Linked DNA regions of Homo sapiens: region 2 is linked to region 1. Evidence: promoter capture Hi-C in 16 types of primary human blood cells and fetal thymus (Javierre and others, 2016). All regions are on one chromosome and are shown on one strand. The core of a region is centred on a gene start or on the middle of the fragment in contact, and the rest is flanking DNA. Distances in the headings are between cores, read along the strand shown.

Region 1 (6,642 bases), core at 2,588-5,087:
CTGAGTTGGTTGGCCTCTAGCTGGGAGGTGGTGTTTTTGAGATAGCACCAGAGTTTTTCACCTGTCTTGTGGAATTTGCAGGGGCCTGCCACTTATTTTAAAGGATCTGTGATTTGTTATGGTTTTCCTGATATGCTCCTGCAGTGGTTGCTGGAGCAAAAGTTCATGGTGTGAATCTGCCCACACTGTTCTCTCCATCCAAGTGGGAGCTGCACATCAGCCCTGTCTCCTAACCACCATCTTCCCTCTCTCACTTTTTTCTTTTTTATTGCTGAGTAATAGTCCATTGTATAGATATATCTCATTTGTTTATCCATTCATCAGATGATGGACATTTGGGCTGTTTCCACCTTTTGTCTATTGTGAATACTGCTGTTATAAATAAATATTAGTGAGATAATACTTTACATCTATTTGACTGACAAAAATTAAGACAGACAATACCAAATACTGGAGAGATCTATTCAAGGGTATATTGCTGAGTAGAGTGTAAATTTGTTTAACCATTGGAAAATAACTTGGCATTATTTTGAAAAATGGAAAACTCATACTCTCTATGATCCAGCAATTTCATTCCCATGTATATATCCAAGAGAAACTTCAGCATATAGGCACCAGGAGACATATACGACAGTGTTAATAGTAGTATTGTTTCTAAGAGTGAAAACTTGAATCACTGAAGTGTGTATCAATGGCCATTTCTTTAAGGAGTTCTGCTCTAAAGGGAAGGAAAGAAATGGTGCAGTAATGGAGGTTGAGAATTTTTTTTTTAAATGGGAGAAAAAATAGCACACTTGTATGCTGAGGCAGTACTTCAATGGAAAAGGAAAAAAAAATAGTAAGAATTTCTGGATAACCTGGTTTCTCAGACACTTAGCTTCCATTTATCTGCCAGTTCTGGAGGGTGCCGTATATACCTTCCAGTTTTAAGTTTTACCTATGTTCACTTGCCATTTTAAAAAAAACTTGTATTAGGTTCAGGGTACATGTGCCTGTTTGTTATATAGGTAAATTGTGTGTCACGGCAGTTTGGTGTACAGATTATTTCTCCACCTAGGTAAAAAGCATAGTACCCGATAGATGGTTTTTCAGTCCTCACTCTCCTCCCTTCCTCCACCCTCAAGTAGGCCCCAGAGTCTGCTGTTTCCTTTTTTGTGTCCATATGTACTCAATGTTTTGCTCCCACTTGTGAGAACATATGATAGTTGGCTTTCTGTTCCTATGTTGGTTAACTTAGGATAATGGCATCCAGCTCCACCCATGTTGCTGTAAAGAACATGATCTTGTTCTTTTTTATGGTTGCATAGTATTCCATGGTGTATATGTACCACATTTTCTTTATTCAGTCTACTGTTGATGGGCATTTAGGGAAGATTCCATGTCTTTGCTATTGTGAACAGTGCTGCAATAAACATGGGAGTGCGTTTTTTTTTTACAGTAGAATGATTTATATTCCTTTGGATATATACTCAATAATGAGATTGCTAAGTCAAATCATAATTATGCTTTGTGTTCTTTGAGAAATCACCAAACTGCTTTCTATAATGGCTGAAGTAATTTACATTCCCACCAGCAGTGTATGTGTTGCTTTTCTCTGCAACCTTGCCAGCATCTGTTGTTTTTTGACTTTTTAATAATATTCATTCTGACTGGTGTGAGATGGTATCTAAATGTGGTTTTGATTTGCATTTCTGTAATGACGAGTGATGTTAAGCATTTTTTATATGCTTGTTGGCCGCATGTCTATCTTCTTTTGAGAAGTGTCTGTTTATGTCCTTTGCCTTTTTAATGAGGTTTTTTGCTTATTGATTTTTAAAATTCCTTATAGATTCTGGATATTAGACCTTTCTTGGATTCATAGTTTGAAAATATTTTCTCCCATTCTGTAGATTGTCTGCTTACTCTGTTGATAGTTTATTTTGTGGTGCGGAAACTCTTTAATTAGGTCCCATTTGTCAATTTTTGTTTTTGTTGCAATTGCTTTTGGCATCCTCATGATGAAATCTTTGTCAGGTCCTATGTCCAGAATGGTATTTCCCAGGTTACCTTCTAAGGTTTTTAGTTTTAGGTTTTACATTTAAGTCTTTAATCCATTTTGAGTTGAGTTTTGTATATGGTATAGGAAGGGGGTCCTGTTTCATCTGTATATGGCTAGCTAGTTATCCAAGCACCATTTATTGAATAGGGAGTCTTTTGCCCATTGCTTGTTTTTATCAACTTTGTTGAAGACCAGATGGTTGTAGGTCATTCTTAAACTGCTGGATTAAATAAGAGCACATCAACTGAGTATCCAAAGTTATTTTTTATATCTCTTATACAGAATTCGATTGGTCCACCTTTCATCATATCACTAGAGAAATCAGATCCAAGTTACCATATGTGTTCAGTCAAAGGTTATTATACAGCAGTCAAAATGAATGAATTACATGCAACATGTATTAAGAACATATGAATGCAGTTACATGCAACAACATGGATTAATATAGCAACAAAATGTTGAATAAAAAGGCAAGTTGAAGACTACATGTAGTATTATATCCTTTTTAGAATATTTAAATGCAAGCAAAATTAAACAATGTTACTTAGACATACTTTGTATGTGATCACACAAATGTGCAAGAACAAAATTCAGGACAATGACTACCTCAGGGAGGACAGTACGAGAAGAAAAGGAGCACACAGATCTAAATCACTGGTAATTTTCTAGTTCAGTGTTTCTCAAACTTTAATGTGCATCAGAATCACCTTAAAATCTAAATTACTGGGCCCTACCCTCAGAGTTTTCTGGTTCAGTATGTGGGGGATGGGGCCTAAGAATATACATATCGAACGAAGTTCCAGGTGCTGCCAGTTCTGCTGCTCTGGGGACCACACTCTGAAACCACTTGTAGTTCTTAGATTGGGTTGTAGGTTCATAGCTGCTCCATTTTATTATTAAATGTATATGCTACTTAAATTAAATTAAAAAAAAAAGATCAAAGATGAGAGTGTGTTATGAACTAGGGATTAACATTAATTCAATTCTGGGCTCCTGAGGTTTCCTCCCCTAAAAAAAATTCTAAGGTTCCATTACTAAAAGCAAACTTGAGAAACACTATTTTAAAAGAACTTCAAGACCATTAAAAAAATTAACTTTTTGAGAAATAAATTTGAAAATTATTCTTTATATGCACAGTGACAGCATATTGCACTCTACTTTCCTGGATCTCAATAAACTTTGGCAAGAACTTGGCAGATCACAAATCTACTTTTGTTGATTCAACAAAAACTGTTTAAAGACTTCTCTTCCATTCTCAGTTCTTATCCTTCTCTCAAAATGCTGTAGGTAATGATTTTTCATCTTTTTTCTCTCTCCCTCCCTTACAGATTGATTTAGGCTCTGAGATAAAATTTAGGTGACATTTTAGATATCGACAGGGCATGTGCAGAGCAATACTCTGTCTTGCAGTATGCCAGCCACGGACGGGGTTTAGACAAACGGCTGAATATAAAACTCTTGCCTACAAGCAGCTCAGCCTAGAGGGGGAAACAGATTCATAAATATAAAATTACAATCCAAAGCAGGAAACACAGTATGTTATACGAAGGCAAAGAGGTTCGTCTTCTTTCATAGCCTCTCCTAAACCCGGCAACTCTGAGCTGTTTTTCTGGCAAGCCGCCGTCCATTGGCGGCCTCTGGCGCCGCGGCTTTCGGCGTGCGGACGGCGCAGGCGCGGGCGGGGCGGGGCCGGGCGGGGAGGGCGGTGAGGGCCGGCGCTCGGGGCCGCGTTTCATTGGCTTTCCGGCCGGAAGCTGCGGCGCGACCCGGCTGCGCATGCGCCTCTCACACGTGCTGTCAGAACGCCGCCTCCTCCGCTTGCGGCCGGTCTGCACCATGCTGCGAACGTCCGTCCTCCGCCTGCTAGGACGCACGGGGGCTAGTAGGCTGTCTCTCCTGGAGGACTTCGGCCCACGCTACTACAGTTCGGGCTCCCTCAGTGCCGGCGATGATGCTTGTGATGTGCGCGCCTACTTCACTACACCCATTTTCTACGTGAACGCGGCGCCGCACATCGGGCACCTGTACTCGGCACTACTGGCGGACGCCCTATGCCGCCACCGTCGCCTCCGAGGTCCCAGCACGGCCGCCACGCGATTCTCCACTGGTACCGACGAGCACGGGCTGAAGATTCAGCAGGCAGCAGCTACCGCGGGCCTGGCCCCGACCGAGCTGTGCGACCGAGTCTCTGAGCAGTTCCAGCAGCTTTTCCAGGAGGCCGGTATCTCCTGCACAGATTTCATCCGCACCACGGAGGCCCGGCACCGGGTGGCTGTGCAGCACTTCTGGGGGGTGCTTAAGTCCCGCGGTCTGCTCTACAAGGGCGTCTATGAAGGTTGGTATTGCGCTTCCGACGAGTGCTTCCTGCCTGAGGCCAAGGTCACCCAGCAGCCGGGCCCATCGGGGGATTCGTTTCCTGTATCTCTCGAGAGCGGGCATCCAGTCTCCTGGACCAAGGAAGAAAACTACATTTTCAGGCTTTCCCAGTTCCGGAAGCCACTCCAGCGGTGGCTGCGGGGCAACCCTCAGGCGATCACCCCCGAACCATTTCATCACGTAGTTCTTCAGTGGCTGGACGAGGAGCTGCCCGACCTGTCCGTGTCTCGCAGAAGTAGCCACTTGCACTGGGGCATTCCGGTGCCCGGGGATGATTCGCAGACCATCTATGTATGGCTGGATGCCCTGGTCAACTACCTCACTGTAATTGGCTACCCAAATGCTGAGTTCAAATCTTGGTGGCCGGCCACCTCTCATATCATAGGTAAGGACATTCTCAAATTCCATGCCATCTATTGGCCTGCCTTCCTGTTAGGGGCCGGCATGAGCCCGCCACAGCGCATCTGTGTCCATTCCCACTGGACAGTCTGTGGCCAAAAGATGTCCAAGAGCTTGGGCAACGTGGTGGATCCTAGGACTTGCCTTAACCGCTATACCGTGGATGGCTTCCGCTACTTTCTCCTTCGGCAGGGCGTCCCCAACTGGGACTGTGACTACTATGATGAAAAGGTGGTTAAGTTGCTGAACTCCGAGCTGGCAGATGCCTTGGGAGGTCTCTTGAACCGATGCACTGCCAAAAGAATAAATCCTTCTGAGACCTACCCAGCCTTCTGCACTACCTGCTTCCCTAGTGAGCCAGGGTTGGTGGGGCCGTCAGTTCGTGCTCAGGCAGAGGATTATGCTCTGGTGAGCGCAGTGGCCACTTTGCCAAAGCAGGTAGCAGACCACTATGATAACTTTCGGATATATAAGGCTCTGGAGGCCGTGTCCAGCTGTGTCCGGCAAACTAATGGTTTTGTCCAAAGGCATGCACCATGGAAGCTGAACTGGGAGAGCCCAGTGGATGCTCCCTGGCTGGGTACTGTGCTTCATGTGGCCTTGGAATGTTTGCGAGTCTTTGGGACTTTGCTGCAGCCTGTCACCCCAAGCCTAGCTGACAAGCTGCTGTCTAGGCTGGGGGTCTCTGCCTCAGAGAGGAGTCTTGGAGAGCTCTATTTCTTGCCTCGATTCTATGGACATCCATGCCCTTTTGAAGGGAGGAGGCTGGGACCTGAAACTGGGCTTTTGTTTCCAAGACTAGACCAGTCCAGGACTTGGCTGGTGAAAGCCCACCGGACCTAGAAACTCAGTTCTTACCGGCTTGTGGTAAAAAAGCAAATGTGTTATCTTTTTATTTTTTATTTTCAGGAAAGTTATACTAGTATTTTCTTAAGTGTGGAATCAAATGAGCACATAAGCTGTGTCCCTGTGAAAAGAGGTTTGTAGCCTTTCAGGTGCCTGCTCCTATTCATTTCTCTGTGACCATTGATCACTGTCCTTTGTGCATTGTGTGTCTAAGATGTCTTCAGGGGAAAGATGGGTAAGAGACAGTGTTGCTAATGCTGTTCCTTCTTTGTGCCTCCTTCCAAACCACAGTTATTTGCCCAAACTACCTCTCGTGGCTGGTTTTTCATTGGCCTGGCCTCTGCTTCTCAGGCTAATTAGTGACTCCTTTCTTTGAGGGTCAGGGTTGGAGGCCCCTTACTGGTGGTTTTACAGGGGGATCCTACTTTGTTACACATGTTGGGTTTCCTGATAAAAAGAGAGTATTTTATTAAACCCTTGAACCAGTGTCCTAGACCAGATGATTTTTGCCCATGTGTATCCCCATTTAAATTCCTACAACTAAGTCTCCCTGCTTTGTTAATAGTCCAACAGTTGGGTTGTGTAACATCACACTTCAACCGGTAGATGGCTCTAATCTCACACATTTACTTACTAAAGATTGAGGATTCGGAATATTTAGAATAAATTAGTTTTCTGCTTTCTAATTTTGCAGATCTTTACATTTTTATTGCTTTTCTTAAAATAAGGGATAGCTTTGCAACCACTATTGTTTTAATGGAAAGCAAAAAACCCCCCCAAACTTATCAGAATCCTCGTTCTTTTTCAGACTACTGAAAAATGACATTTACTCTGTTAAATGTTTAATAAGTGAATAAGTAAATGTATCAAGTTGTTTATATAATAAATTATAAAACTCTTGAGGCACTTGGTATGTTAAAAATTTTAAACTTTAGTAACATTAGGTTACAGGTATGATTTAAAAATTTGTAAATAGTTCAAAA
Region 2 (6,734 bases), core at 2,171-4,670, 230 kb before region 1:
CAATAAGTATTTTTTTTATGATACAAAATAGGAACTACCAAGATGCCCTGCACATAGTATGGTTAAGTATTGTGATTGTGTGCATACTGAATATAAAGTATACATGTGCATTGAAAAAATCAGAAAGAAATGGATCAGGGCTAAGGGCCAGGACTACACAGTTAGGAAAACTAGATAGAGGCCTCTAGGAATAAGGAGCAAAGAGTGAAGGAAAGACTATACGTGATTAATAAGAGAACAGTCTTTGAGTAGGAGATAAATGTGTACCAGGTACCTTATTAACATTTCAGTGATCTCATGATATAAAGTAGGTATTATTTTACAGATTAAGGAAATAGGGTATGGGGATTTAACTTGTTCACGATCACTTATATGTGGCAGAGCTAGAAATAAGCTTCCAAGAAGCTCCCTCTTTTGCTTCTAGAGGAAGGAAAGCTAAGTAGCAAAGCAGGTGTTAGCAATGGAAGAGAAAACACCTGGCAATCTTAGGGATCCCTGCAGGAAAAAAAAAAAAGGCTAATATTGGCAAGACATTACTTCCTAGTACCAAGCTAAAAATTAGATATCTTTATCTCCTATGGTCTGACCTATAAAAATTATTACTTATGAAAGAAATCAGCCTCAGTCATAGTAGATTCTTAGATTATGTCCAGTAGCAAAGGTATTTAACTGTGGTTTTATTTTTTCATTTTGTTGTAGGCATCTTGTACTGATGGGAGACTTTTCAATCATTTGGAGACTATTTGGCGTTTTAGCCCAGGTCTTCCTGGCTACCCAAGAACTTGTACCTTGGATTTTTCAGTAAGTCTCATAAAGCCCTTGATTTGTTCCACTTATGAGGTAAAATTGGTAAAAAGTAATCATTTTTTAGAACACAGAGGCCATAATTATATTGAATACCTTTTTCTGCATAAATGCTAATGAACATTTCTTTTTTATTCTATTTCTTGCAACCTTGAATATTCCTTCATTCTGTTTTTTACAAATCTGTAGATTGTAAGATACATGCCATGACTTTACAACCAGCTTAATAACAGTTTTAAACTTAATAATAGTTTTAAATTAACACCAAATGAAAGAACACATTGCATATAAGATGCAGAAACAGGCTAGGTGCAGTAGCCCATGCCTGGAATCCCAGCACTTTGGGAGGCTGAGTCAGGTGGATCACTTGAGGCCAGGAGTTTGAGACCAGCCTGGGGAACATAGCAAGACTTTGTCTCTAGTGAAAATAAAATTATCGGCTGGATGGGGTGGCTCACACCTATAACCCTAGCACTTTGGGAGGCTGAGGCGGGCAGATCACCTGAGGTCAGGAGTTCGAGACCAGCCTGACCAATATCATGAAACCCCGTCTCTAGTAAAAATACAAAAATTAGCCGGGCGTGGTGGCATGTGCCTGTAATCCCAGCTACTCAGGAGGCTGAGACAGGAGAATCACTTGAACCCGGGAGGCGGAGGTTGCAGTGAGCCGAGATCGTGCCATTGCACTCCAGCCTGGGCAACAAGAGCAAAACTGTCTCAAAACAAATAAAAATAAAAATAAAATTATCCTTGTGTAGTGGTGCCCACCAGTAGTCCTAGCTGCTGAGAAGGCTGACGAGCAGATCACTTGAGTCCAAGGGTTCGAGCTTGCAGTGAACTATGATCACATCACTGTACTCCATCCTGGGCAACAGAGTGAGACCCTGTCTCAAAAAATTTAAAAATAAAACATGCAGAAATAAGGTAATATATTTTTTTCATTTTTTTGCATCTAGAGTCTGGTAACTTTCTTTTTTTATTTTTTTGAGATGGGGCGCTACTTTGTCACCCAGATTGGAGTGCAGTGCTGTGATATTGACTCAGTGTAACCTCTGCTTCCCTGGCTCAAGTGATCCTCACACCTCAGCCTCCCGAGTAGCTGGGACTACAGGAATGCACCACCACACAGGCTTATTTTTGTATTCTATGTAGGGATGGGGTTTTGCCATGTTTCCCAGGCTGGTCTCGAACTTCTGGGCTCAGGAGATCTGCCTACCTTGGCCTCCCAAAGTGCTGGGATTACAGGCGTGAGCCACCGCACCCAGCCTAGTAACTTTCTTTTTCATATAATCGTAGTTATAGAAAACTTAAAGCAATTTGTGGCTTTTTCTTTGCCAACAGGTAATATGGGAGTTGTTCTCTGTACAGGCAACTTGGGCATTGAATTTTAAGAAATGGTGGCAATTTTGACTAAATTATCGTGTGCTGTTCTCAGCTCTTGAGTAATTTTCATTAAAGCATTATAGACATTAATAGGACAATTGGGGCCAAGCACAGTGGCTCACGCCTGTAATCCCAGCAATTTGGGAGGCCGAGGCGGGCAGATCACTTGAGGTCAGGAGTTTGAGACCAGCCTGGCCAACATGGCGAAACCCCATCTCTACTAAAAATACAAAAATTAGCCGGGTGTGGTGGTGCATGCCTGTAGTCCTAGCTACTTGAAAGGCTGAACCAGGAGAATCACTTGAACCCAGGAAGTGGACGTTGCAGTGATCTGAGATCGTACCACTGCACTCCAACCTGGGTGACAGAGTGAGACACTGTCTCAAAAAAAAAAAAAAAGGACAATTGGGAAAATTTGAATAAGGTCTATATAAATTAGATAATAGCATTATTATCTAGTAGTAGTAACTCCCTCTGTTAATTTCCTGATTTTGATAATTGCAGTATGGTTATTGAAGACATTAAAATAGGGAAATATGGGTAATGGGTACATGGGAATTCTTTGTATTATTTTGTAGTTTTTTTTTTTTACAAAAATGAAATTATTTCGTAATGAAAGATAAACATTTTAATATTTAGAGGATATTTGGTCCTTAAAACACAGTTCTCAAACCAGTTGTCTTGAATTCTATATGGAACAATGAGAGGGTATAAATAAAGTTCTGAAAGGGTATCCAAGGGAGAGAATACAGTCATGGGTTCTTAGTTTCTGTTTCTGGTTGGGCCAGTAAAGCCTCTTCCTCATCCCTCTTTTCCACTTAACCACTAGAGACAGAAACTAAAACCCATGGCTTCAGGCTGTTAAAAGCCTAAAACAAAACAAAACAAAACAACAACAACTACAAAATAAGGTGGATTGGACAAGCTTGTCCACATCATTGGCTACTTTAAGATTGAACCACGTGGCCGGGCGCAGTGGCTCATGCCTGTAATCCCAACACTTCGCAAGGCCTAGGTGGGTGGATTACCTGAGGTCAGGAGTTTGAGACCAGCCTGGCCAACATGGTGAAACCCCGTCTCTACTGAAAATACAAAAATTAACTGGACGTGGTGGCAGGTGCCTGTGGTCCCAGCTACTCTGGAGGCTGAGGCAGGAGAATCGCTTGAACCTAGAAGTCAGAGGTTGCATTTGAGCCGAGGTTGGGCCATTTCCAGCCTGGGCGACAGAGCAAGGCTCCATCTCAAAAAAAAAAAAAAAAAAAAAGAAAGATTAAACCACTTACACCATCTGCCCTGTGGGTTAGGCACACATGTGCATGCACACTTCCAGCCTCCTCTTCCTGCTGGTGCTTCTCAGTGATACCTATGAGAAGGATCACTTTCCTTCCTTATTTCCTTTTGTGGGATAGGATGGATCTAAAAGGGACACATTAATAAGAAGGCATAGTGATTAATGTATTCAGCAAAGGTTTTTTCCAGTCTTCTCTTATTAAGAAACAGACTTTTTCCCTTGAAATGAGATTTCATTGGCCTTCTTTATGTAAGCTTATTGTGCCAGCAATTGTGCTTGTTGCAGTAAAAGAAGATTCCCTCTTTTGTGGGGGTGCTAAAAATCCCACCTACATACATCCACACAATTCTACCTTAGATACCCAGTTCATAGTGTGAACACCACTGTCCTAAGTGGAGATTTAGTTTAAAAAAAATCTTTCTGGCTGGGCACAGTGGCTCATGCCCATAATCCCAACACTTTGGGAGGCTGAAGTGGGCAGAATTGCATTAGCCCAGGAGTTTGAGATCAGCCTGGGCAACATGGCAAAACCCCTTCTCTACGCCCCCCCCCACAAAAAAAAAAAAAATATATATATATATATATATATATATACACATATATACATATATATATATGTATATATACACGTATATATATGTATATACGTATATATATACGTATATATATACACACACACACACACAAATTAGCCACATGTGGTGGCATATGCCTGTAGTACCAGCTACTTGGGAGACAGAGGTGGGAGGATTGCTTGAGTCCAGGAGGTTGAGGCTGCAGTGAGCCGCAATTGTGCCACTGCACTCCAACCTGGGCAACAAAGCGAGAGTCCCTCTCCAGGAAAACCAAAAAAAAAAAAAAAGCAAAAAATAATTTTTTCTAAAATAATTTTCAATATTTTCCTACAGATTTCTTTTGAATTTCGATCACTTCTACATTCCCAGCTTGCCACACTCTTTTTTGATGAAGTTGTGAAGCAGATGGTAGCTGCCTTTGAAAGAAGAGCATGTAAGCTGTATGGTCCAGAAACAAATATACCTCGGGAGTTAATGCTTCATGAAGTCCATCACACATAAAGGCAAAAAAGAACTGGTGCCACCTGCTTCTGACTTTAGTTTGTTCACTTTTAGGAAGTATTTTCATGACATGTTTTCAGAAGCCAGAAAGCATTTGTTAAACGCAGCTTTGGTTATAAACCTGCACCATTGAAAATTTGCACATAGAATATAGACTCACTTGTACATAGAATTATTTCTTCAAGTATAATTCAAAATAATATGGACATTATCATGTTCTGCATTACAATAATGGGATGTCATCACCATTGCTAGAATACTGGCATGATTCTTCTGAGCAGAAGTTGAAACTGTAAATTTAAACCTTTTAATTATCACCTTACCTGAAAGAGGTTAGTTAAGATATTCACACAGTATGTATTATATTAACCATATCACACTTAAGTTATTAAATTCAGACTATTTGTAACTTATTGTTATAGGGCCTGCCGTATGGCTTAGGATATTTGAGTAATCATATATTTAAAGTAAAAACTTTGGGCTGGGCACAGTGGCTCACACCTGTAATCCCAGCACTTGGGGAAGCTGAGGTGGGCAGATCAGTTGAGGTCAGGAGTTCTAGACCAGCCTGGTCAACATGGCGAAACCCCATCTCTACTAAAAATACAAAAATTAGCTGGGCGTGGTGGCACACACCTGTAATCCCAGTTACTTGGGAGGCTGAGGCACAAGAATCGCTTGAACCCGGGAGGCGGAGGTTGCAGTTAGCCAAGATCGCCCTGCTGCACTCCAGCCTGGGCAACAGAGGGAGACTCTGTCTCCAAAAACAAAAACAAAAACTGTTAGTGAAGGTTCCCTGGGACTTTTGATATTTTAAAAATTGTTCTTATGACTAGTAGATAAATTCATTGCCATAATGAGGCTAGCTCCCAGATAAACAGTGTATTTTCTTCTTTTTTTTTTTTTTTTTGGTGAGTGGTCCAGAGCTTTAAGCTACTTTTCCAGTAGTTTGCCACTTTCTCCGAGGTAGTTTGGCTGCTCTTTCAGTAATGCTAATTGTGTGTCAAATTTTGTCTACAACAGTAGGCAACAGATGAAGATAAGTTGGTTGAATGTCTCCAGCACTATGCATCCCTATTTTCTATTTATTGTGTACACTCACTTTCAGTAATGTGTTTCAAACTGGTATTTTTTAAAAAACAAATCAATGTAAGGACTGAAGTTGAAGTAGCAATGTAATAAAGTTAATTTGTTTATTTTTTGTACAGTTAGTTTGGTTATTGAAATCTTCCTATATTGTTTAAATGTGTATTTGCATAGACATAGTAAAGTGTTACAGCATTTCATGTCTTAAAAATATCTATGAAGATATCTAAAATATCTATTTCTATGAAGAAACAGACTTTAACAAATATAAGCAAAATTCAGTTTTCTTTTAACCAGTCATTGATCTCCTGTCCTCCTTTCACTACATACCAACAACCCTCTGGCATTAAACTTCCAGTGATAGTGCTATTAACTTTGTTTCCTCAGGTCAACAAGGGACCTCAGTAATTAGTTCTCTACATAAGTATATATATGGGTATTAATTTGTTTAATAAATCTGTTTTGAGCACCTGCTTTCAATCAGACACTGGGTATAGAGTGATGAAGGATTCATATCAGCCTCTACTCATGAGGAGCCAGGTTGTGCTCTCACACAAGGTAAGCAGTATCTTTCCACTTACAGATGAGGTATTTGCCAAGAGCATAAGTAGTTTGTATATAGTTATATACCTTTTTTTTTTTTCTTTTCTTGAGACGGAGTTTCGCTTTTGTTGCCCAGGCTGGAGTGCAATGACGCGATCTCAGCTCACCGCATCCTCTGCCTCCCACGTTCAAGCAATTCTCCTGCCTCAGCCTCCTGAGTAGCTGGGATTACAGGCATGCACCACCACACCTGGCTAATTTTGTATTTTTAGTAGAAACGGGGTTTCTCCGTGTTGATGAGGCTGGCCTCAAACTCCCAACCTCAGGTGATCTGCCTGCCTCAGCCTTCCTAAGTGCTGGCATTACAGGCGTGAGCCACTGTCCCTGGCCAGTGTACCAATGTAGCTTTTTAAATAACAAAGTTTTTTTTTTTTTTTTGGCTGGGCACGCTGGCTCATGCCTGCAATCCCAGCACTTTGGGAGGCTGAGGCAGGCAGATCACGGGGTCAAGAGATTGAGACCATCCTGGCCAACATGGTGAAACCCTGTCT

The links. Contacts are between HindIII fragments. The CHiCAGO score rates a contact against its expected background, and 5 or more counts as called.
Region 2: a fragment that was not itself captured here is called in contact with the fragment with the promoter of MARS2 in region 1 in 1 of 17 cell types (neutrophils); the score reaches 5.3 in neutrophils.

The regions. Positions count from the first base shown.
Region 1 is chr2:197,701,532-197,708,173 of GRCh38, forward strand. It overlaps MARS2 (methionyl-tRNA synthetase 2, mitochondrial), which reads left to right and starts at 3,838. Exons shown (of 1, transcript NM_138395.4): 1 at 3,838-6,642. The coding sequence starts at 3,875. The coding sequence ends at 5,656. RefSeq lists a silencer at 3,652-3,891 and enhancers at 4,032-4,081, 4,122-4,241. The HindIII fragment of the contact is 9,491 bases long and covers 1-6,642 here.
Region 2 is chr2:197,469,371-197,476,104 of GRCh38, forward strand. It overlaps COQ10B (coenzyme Q10B), which reads left to right. Exons shown (of 5, transcript NM_025147.5): 4 at 700-801; 5 at 4,387-5,940. The coding sequence ends at 4,554. LOC124907951 (a long non-coding RNA gene) reads right to left here and starts at 3,671. Exons shown (of 2, transcript XR_007087903.1): 1 at 3,471-3,671. The HindIII fragment of the contact is 620 bases long and covers 3,111-3,730 here.